Regions from separate parts of the Homo sapiens genome. Here region 2 is linked to region 1. Evidence: promoter capture Hi-C in human tissues and cell types (Jung and others, 2019). All regions are on one chromosome and are shown on one strand. Each heading gives the region's core, a stretch centred on a gene start or on the middle of the fragment in contact. The rest is flanking DNA. Distances are from core to core; before and after follow the strand shown. Region 1 holds the start of LAMP5 (lysosomal associated membrane protein family member 5). Region 2 has its middle 62 kb from the start of PARAL1.

Evidence for each region. The method cuts DNA at HindIII sites, captures the fragments that hold promoters and counts their contacts. A contact is called where the count stands out against the background at its distance.
Region 2: a fragment that was not itself captured here is called in contact with the fragment with the promoter of LAMP5 in region 1 in 1 of the 25 tissues and cell types used here (H1 embryonic stem cells).

The regions. Positions count from the first base shown.
Region 1 is chr20:9,513,276-9,517,154 of GRCh38, forward strand. It overlaps LAMP5 (lysosomal associated membrane protein family member 5), which reads left to right and starts at 1,315. Exons shown (of 6, transcript NM_012261.4): 1 at 1,315-1,641; 2 at 2,178-2,350; 3 at 2,725-2,856; 4 at 2,981-3,086. The coding sequence starts at 1,578. It overlaps LAMP5-AS1 (LAMP5 antisense RNA 1), which reads right to left and starts at 1,723. Exons shown (of 5, transcript NR_109957.1): 1 at 1,489-1,723. RefSeq lists an enhancer at 2,250-2,834. The HindIII fragment of the contact is 16,129 bases long and covers 1-3,879 here.
Region 2 is chr20:9,922,250-9,926,182 of GRCh38, forward strand. No RefSeq gene overlaps it. Among named protein-coding and RNA genes, the nearest start is that of PARAL1, 62 kb to the right of the region's middle. The HindIII fragment of the contact is 5,925 bases long and covers 1-3,933 here.

The sequences.
Region 1 (3,879 bases), core at 65-2,564:
TAGGAATATGTTTGAAAGCCAAAAACATTATATAGATACTTTGTGGCAGATATGTCAGAATGTGATTATACTTAAAACAGCATTCTATAAATTTGAAGAATGTGAATTAATGATAGAGATTTCAGATTTCAGATTATTATTTGATATTGAATATAGATTTTTATGGAAGTCAAAATATGGAGTAAAAATATTATATAAGGAGAAATGAAGATAATCTCACAGAGTTAAAGCATGTGATTTTTGTATTTTAATTCTAACTGACCATGTGACATTTGGGAAGGTCATTTAATTTATTTGAGCCTCAGTTTTGGGGTATGTAAAACCACAGTAACTCATATCTTTCCTTGCCTACCCTCTAAGATTGGGGAGAATCAAATTAGATAATGCAGGTGAAATACTTTGCAATTTTCCCTTTAATATGACATTGTTTTATAACATTATATTACTGATGCAACATTTATTTGCATTATGAAATATCTTCTAAGGAATAAAATATTTGGACATCACTACAATTGATGAGGACTGCATGTGTATTTTTGAAAGCTGTATTCTGATTTACAGAGCAAAAATAAAAAATAAGCAAGCTACCAAATATGTAAATACAGGAATTAGCCCAGTAGTATTTGTTCTTCTGTTCCACTACAGGCTTTAGAGTAATATCAGTGTGTGTTTTTCTTACATAACTATGTGACATTACTTAGGGCATAATTCTAAAATTTCTGTCCTAGGAGACACTAGATAACTCTCAAAAACTTCTGATTTGCTTGCATCCCTTTTTGGCAGAGTGGTCACAGTATAATGCGGGAGGGTAGGTGACCCCAGAGTTCAGAGTCCTCATGCACCCGGGAGCAAAATTCACAGGAAAATAAGCCCACATGGAGCTACTGCATTGTCTGATGGCCTCGTTCGAGGAGGCGTCAATTTAACTTTAAACCCATGAGCTCATTGAGAGCAGGGGAGAGAAGGGGATGTCTCCAAATTCAGGAAACTGTTGCCATAGCATTTTCCCTTCTCTATTCCTGCATAGCCCTCCTCCCCCGAATCAGCAACAATTTTTGCTCCACCGTTTTCTTTCGGGAACCAGATGCGTTTTCAGAAGACAGTACTCCAGTGATAAGGTATCTACACCACTTAATAACTGTACCTGGTAAGGAGATTTAATAAGGCTGAGGGTGGTATTAAGTTTCTCAGAACAGACTCATCTTTGCGGATGCAGTTGCAGAACAGGAAACAGACCCAGGGAGAAGTTTAGTCCCCCCAGATCTCATTGGCCCTCCGCACAAGCCAAGCCACAGCCACTCCTGCCACACAATCGGATTGCTTTCAGCACTCGCAGCCGTGGACCGCCGTGCGGTCCTTTCCTCCGCAGTGAGCCGATTTGCTCTGCCAGCAGCTGTCGGTGCCGCGCTCGACACCGAGTCCTAGCTAGGCGCTCACAGAATACGCGCTCCCTCCCTCCCCCTTCTCTGTCCCCCGCCTCTCGCTCACCCCGGCCCACTCCAGCGGCGACTTTGAGGGATTCCCTCTCTGGCGGCCTCTGCAGCAGCACAGCCGGCCTCATTCGGGGCACTGCGAGTATGGATCTCCAAGGAAGAGGGGTCCCCAGCATCGACAGACTTCGAGTTCTCCTGATGTTGTTCCGTGAGTAGCGATTTGGCGACTGGGAGAGAGGACGGGCACTCTTTGCAGAGAACAGAGCCGGCAAAGTAAAGTCAATTAGCTTGAGATAAAAAATATGGCCCTTAATGTTTTGCGGTGTTTTTTCTTTTTTTCTTTTAGGGGAGGAGGGAGGGCCTTCCTCGCCGGTGGCAGGGAATTCCCCTGAGAGCCATACACCTCTGTGGCATATTCCAGACAGAGCCTAGACAGGCCAGCTTCGTGAGGTCAGAGCATTGGCAAGAAATATTTACTTTAAAATCCCAAGATGTAGAAAACAGCCAGCTATATTACAAACAAAGTCAGGATTTTTAATTTTTTTAACTGTATTTTCATTATAAATTAACAGCGAAGGAATGAGGCTTGTTAGACCCGGGTTAGAGAAACGGCTCGTAGAGCGCACAGCTGCTGGCAGAGAACTTTGTCACTCCAAAGCCTGCAGAGCACTGTCTCCCCACCCTAGCGCCCGAGACGCGTGGGCTGAGCCCTGAACTGATGGAATTGTTTTGTTTGTTCCGCAGATACAATGGCTCAAATCATGGCAGAACAAGAAGTGGAAAATCTCTCAGGCCTTTCCACTAACCCTGAAAAAGATATATTTGTGGTGCGGGAAAATGGGACGACGTGTCTCATGGCAGAGTTTGCAGCCAAATTTATTGTACCTTATGATGTGTGGGCCAGCAACTACGTAGATGTAAGGAATCTTTCCCCCCCCTCAGCTTGCTCCTAGGGCTCCAGGGCGAAGGGCACCCTTCCTCAAGGCTCTTCGAAGACCTGGGTTGCCCGCCTTCTTTCCCACACCCCGGCAGGCTGCTCCCGAATGCTGCATGGGGATTCCAGCTTGTAATGCCTTCTGTTCCCCTGCCTGCTTTGAAAGTAAACCCCCTTCTCTCCGCTTCCCTATCGGGGCTGCACGTAGAGCATCTAACCGCATGTTCCCGGAACCTGGGATGCGCGCGCGCAAAGGAGCGCCCAAGCGTGCAACCCAGAGTTTGGACGCGCCGCCCTTTACAGCCCCCGCCCCGGGGCCGGGCGAGCTGAGGGGGCGCGGGGCGTCTGTGTTCCCAGCTGATCACAGAACAGGCCGATATCGCATTGACCCGGGGAGCTGAGGTGAAGGGCCGCTGTGGCCACAGCCAGTCGGAGCTGCAAGTGTTCTGGGTGGATCGCGCATATGCACTCAAAATGCTCTTTGTAAAGGTAACTCCGAGCCCAGCGGGCAGAGGGGCCGCAGGCTCCGCGTGGGTGTGGGAAGTGGCGGCCCCTAGGTTTAAGAACCCAGACGCTGCGGGGACGATTGAAGCGCACCTCCCCGGCTCAACAGGAAAGCCACAACATGTCCAAGGGACCTGAGGCGACTTGGAGGCTGAGCAAAGTGCAGTTTGTCTACGACTCCTCGGAGAAAACCCACTTCAAAGACGCAGTCAGTGGTGAGTGGAGGCTGGCATGGCTGGGGAGGGAGCCTGGGAACTCGCAGAACAGGCTTGGAGAGAGAATTCCTCAAGGTTTTGGAAACCGTCCCACGCTTTGAGGTCCCAGGCCAAGTCTTCCCTCGGCTTGCTCTTTAGGGCGGAAGAGGCGGGAGCGCCCATGAGTCTTCTGGGTCTCAGGCCTTGTAGATCCGCCAGGAACCGCAGGCGTGGGGACCCAAACGTCACCCGTGGCCTGATCCTAGATAAGAAGTCCCTTGAAGGCCTGTCGTTCCCTGGTGCTTCAAAACGACCTCTTATGATTTGGCCTTTGAAGGACCACGGAGAAGGGCAAAGCTGCATTTTAATTTTCTTCCGCATCCTGGTTTTGTTTCTTATGCGCTAAAACTGCAAGGGGGCAGTGCGACTTTCCTTTTCAGTCAGGATGTGATGGCCTTCAGTGTCTTTTTGCGCATGGCAGCATGGCTCGCACGGGATATTCAGTCATCGACTGCAGCTACCTGACAGTGGATTCTGCACCATGTATAATTTACTAGCGTTTCTGGCCCATCCCTCCGACAACTCAGCCAGATCCTCCTCGGCAAAACGAGCGTTCATCCCCCAAATAACAATATTCCTATCTGCAGACACCGTCAAAGACCACATTTAAATTTATTTTATTCTTTATAAGTTGTCTATTTCACTCATAATGAGGCCCTTCATCACCCAGGCACCTGAGTTGGGAAAGGATTTTTATTGAATACATAAAAATACATGTGTCATCTTTCCCTTTTCACCCCTTTTTGTTATCACA
Region 2 (3,933 bases), core at 1,039-3,538, 410 kb after region 1:
AAATCAAATTTTTATTATGATTCCCCTACAGAGTTTTATCCTAATTTATTTTATATTTGAAAGTTGTTTTTAGTCATTCTACATTCTTCTAAGCACCAAAAATATATATAACAGATTGAAATTTTTTGTTGATGATCATAAAATTTGAAATATTTTAATATATATTGAAATAAAATTGTAATTATTAGTAATTCACAATTGATAAAAGCATTATAAAGCTATTACAAATTTTGATAAATAAATATTAAACAGAAAAGCAAAATTTTATCACAAATGCATCTCTTAATGAGATAAATGGGACTTTTTCCCAATTCATATATTTGTGGATGTCTATGAAGGTCACAATTCTTTCTTTTTTTTTTTCTTTTTTTGAGACAGGGTCTCATTCTGTTACCCAGGCTAGAGTACAATGGTGTGATCACAGCTCACTGCAGCCTCCTCCACCTCCTGGGCTCAAGAAATCCTTCCACTTTAGCCTCCTGAGATGCTGGGACTACAGGTGTCCAACACCATGCCAGTTAATTTTCTTTTTCTTTTTTTTTTTTTTTAGAGACAAAGTTTGCCGCATTGCCGAGGCTCGTCGTGAAATCCTGGGCTAAAGAAATCTGCCCACCTCGGCCTCCCAAAGTGCTGGGATTACAAATGTGAGCCATCTCACTCGGCCCATAAATATTTATTTATTGCTAAAAGAACATAGGTCTGATCATGGACTCTATTTGTATTATCATATGTGTGTGTGTGTATATATATATATATATATAGTTACTGTGAAAGCTTGTTCTTATAAACAAGTACATAAGATTAAAAGGGATTTTAATACAGCAATGGCATTCAATTGCTTGAACTTTCCAAATATATGCCAAAATCACATTGTTGCCCATCATACAACTCTTTTTTTTTTCTCTTTTTTTCTGAGACAGAGCCTTACTCTGTTGCCCAGGCTGGAGTGCAGTGGCTCAATCTCGGCTCACTGCAAGCTCTGCCTCCTGGGTTCACGCCATTCTCCTGCCTCAGCCTCCTGAGTAGCTGGGACTACAGGCGCCCGCCACCACGCCCGGCTAATTTTTTGTGTTTTTAGTAGAGATGGGGTTTCACCATGTTAGCCAGGATGGTCTCAATCTCCTGACCTCATGATCCGCCCTTCTCGGCCTCCCAAAGTGCTGGGATTACAGGCGTGAGCCACCGCACCCGGCCATACAACTCTTTTAATAATTCTATCAGCTATGAGCTTTATGAAGCCCTCCGTCAATTTTGCTGAAAGCTCATAAATGGAAATCCCCAGACTTGTAAAAGGATTTCTATCCCAATCTCTAGAGTAGTTCAAGTTCTCATTATCTGGGAGAAACAGCAAAAAGGTGAATCAACTACTATTTACAAAGTTTATTACTCTTTTAACCAGAGATATACTCTGAAAAGCTTTGGAAAATCAAAATATTGCTTATTTCTGTACTTTGTATTGTACTTTGCAAAAAACATTTTATTAAATGCTTTTAAAATGTCTTAAGATATCACAGGCCTTCAATACATTTTTTTCATGAAAATCTCAGAGGTATAGATCAATGAGTTAAAAAGACCCCTGAATGACGTAATTGGCAAGGCTAGGCCTAATTTTAAAACCCATTAGCCAAACCCATCTTCTCTGTCAGCAAAAATGGGACATTATTTATCAATACAAAAAGATGGCTGGGTGCAGTGGCTCACGCCTGTAATCCCAAGCACTTTGGGAGGCCAAAGTGAGTGGATCACGAGGTCAAGAGATCGAGATCATCCTGGCCAACATGGTGAAACCCCATCTCTACTAAAAATACAAAAATTAGCTGGGTGCGGTGGTGCACACCTATAGTCCTAGCTACTTGGGAGGCCGAGGCAGGAAAATCACTTGAACCAGGGAGGCGGAGGTTGCAGTGAGCCGAGATCGTACCATTGCACTCCAGCCCAGTGACAGAGTGAGACTCCGTCTCAAAAAAAAACAAAAGTCAATACAAACAGCTATGTTATGATACATATGAAAATATCTATCTTACAGAATGTATCTTGAGGGGCATATTACCAAACACATGAGGAAAAGAAATTATGATGTTATAAAATGAAAATGATAAATCAATATACTGTTTTCCATTACTGAATTTGTAATTTTTATTCAATGTAGCTAAAATTATGAATTATTTATAAACAACAAAATATAACAGAAAACATGTTATTTCTTTGAAATACATACTTATTTACACATCTGGACTTGTGTGTATGTATGAGAGTATATTTGTGTTTGTGTGCGTGTTGTATTCTGGTGTTCTGTTTTTGAGATTAATGAAGTAAGACTTGTATTAAAAATTAGAAAGAATTTCTTAAATTTTATTAGATCCCATAAATGAACTTTCTCTATATATTTACTTTACAAGAAAAGCATAAACTGCTAAAAAACAAATTGGTCTAACAGCAAGTATATAATTTAATTATTTTAATTGCGAGAAAAAAATGTGACATTTGTAAGATGAAACCAGATAAGGTTACTGTAACAAGATAAATAGCTCATGATATTATTTGATAAAAAGGTTTTATTTCTCTTATTTAATAACAACAAATGTGAAAGAAGTCTCACAAAATTTTACCTCTGATTTGTATCCAGAACAAACGCTAATCCTAGAAAACAGACCAGTTAAAGTGAAATGCATTAGAATCCCCCATCTATCATTTTCATGCATTCAAAGGTCCTTTTCTTCCCTTTTCTAGGGATGAAGGTTGAGAGACCAAAACATTGCTTATATTTAAACACATGAAAGAAATTGATATTTTAGCTTTCAGTGTTTCTAGTGATCTCTTTGCTTTGTTCTCCTGGAATCTTCCTCAAGAGAGATTCCTCCTTTGATAGTATTCAGGAATTTAAGAGGTTAGGTTGCTCACTCCTACTTCCATACTCTACAAAACACCTGAATTAAATATTTAGGAATGAATGAAATACCACATGTCAAATTCTGGGGACCTAAAAGTAGAACATAGAAGAAAATGTGTAGTTTAAAACATGTATTAAGAAACCAAAAAAGAGTCAGAAAAAAAGTGAGCCAAGCATTCAAATAAAGAACATGGAAAAGAAGCAGGAAAGCACATCCAATAAGCAAGGACATAGAAATAAAGGTCATAGCAGAAATTTATGAAATTGTGAAAAATGGAAATAATGGCAAGTAGCAATAATTAAACTAGCTCTTTGAAATGCTTAATAAAAAGGACAGGTTTCTGGGGAGACTGAAGAGGAGAAGGGGAAATTTGCAAATAAACAAATCCATAAACTAAAAAGGATAGACTACATATATATATCTGCAACAGAAATTTAAAATAAAAAAGAATACTGTAAATTACTGTCTCTAAATTTGAATATATAGATGGTGTGAAAAAATTCTTAGAAAAATGTAAACTGCCACAAATTAGAGAGAACTAAAATGGGCCAGTAAGAATTCAAGAAAAGGCCTCCTCTTCAGAAATGCCCCCAGATCCAACCGGTTTTATAAGTATGATCTCCCAAACATTTAAGAAAGGGTTAAGTCTATTGTTTACCACTTTCTCTAGAAACTAGCAAAAGAGAAAAGGCCATCTTTCTGTAATTGATCAAATAAAACAGAGTTTAAAACTGACTGCAACACTCAAAGGATGAAAAGAGGAGAGTGATGTGACCTGATTTGCAACAATTGAATTCTTGTAACTTAGAATGAAGTCACTTTTGCCACTGCTTAGGGCCTGGACTGGATGAAGTTTAAATTACAGGTAGGAGGAGGTCCAGTTATGGAGAATACCACAGTGGTCAGGGTGAGAGATGATAAGAACCTGAATTAAGAAAATAAATGTGGTGGTGGAAGAGATGGATTAGAGAGCTTTTGAGGAATTAGAATGGACAGGTCTTATAACTGATTATCCTTAAGAAGTGCTGGTGAGCAGCGGGGA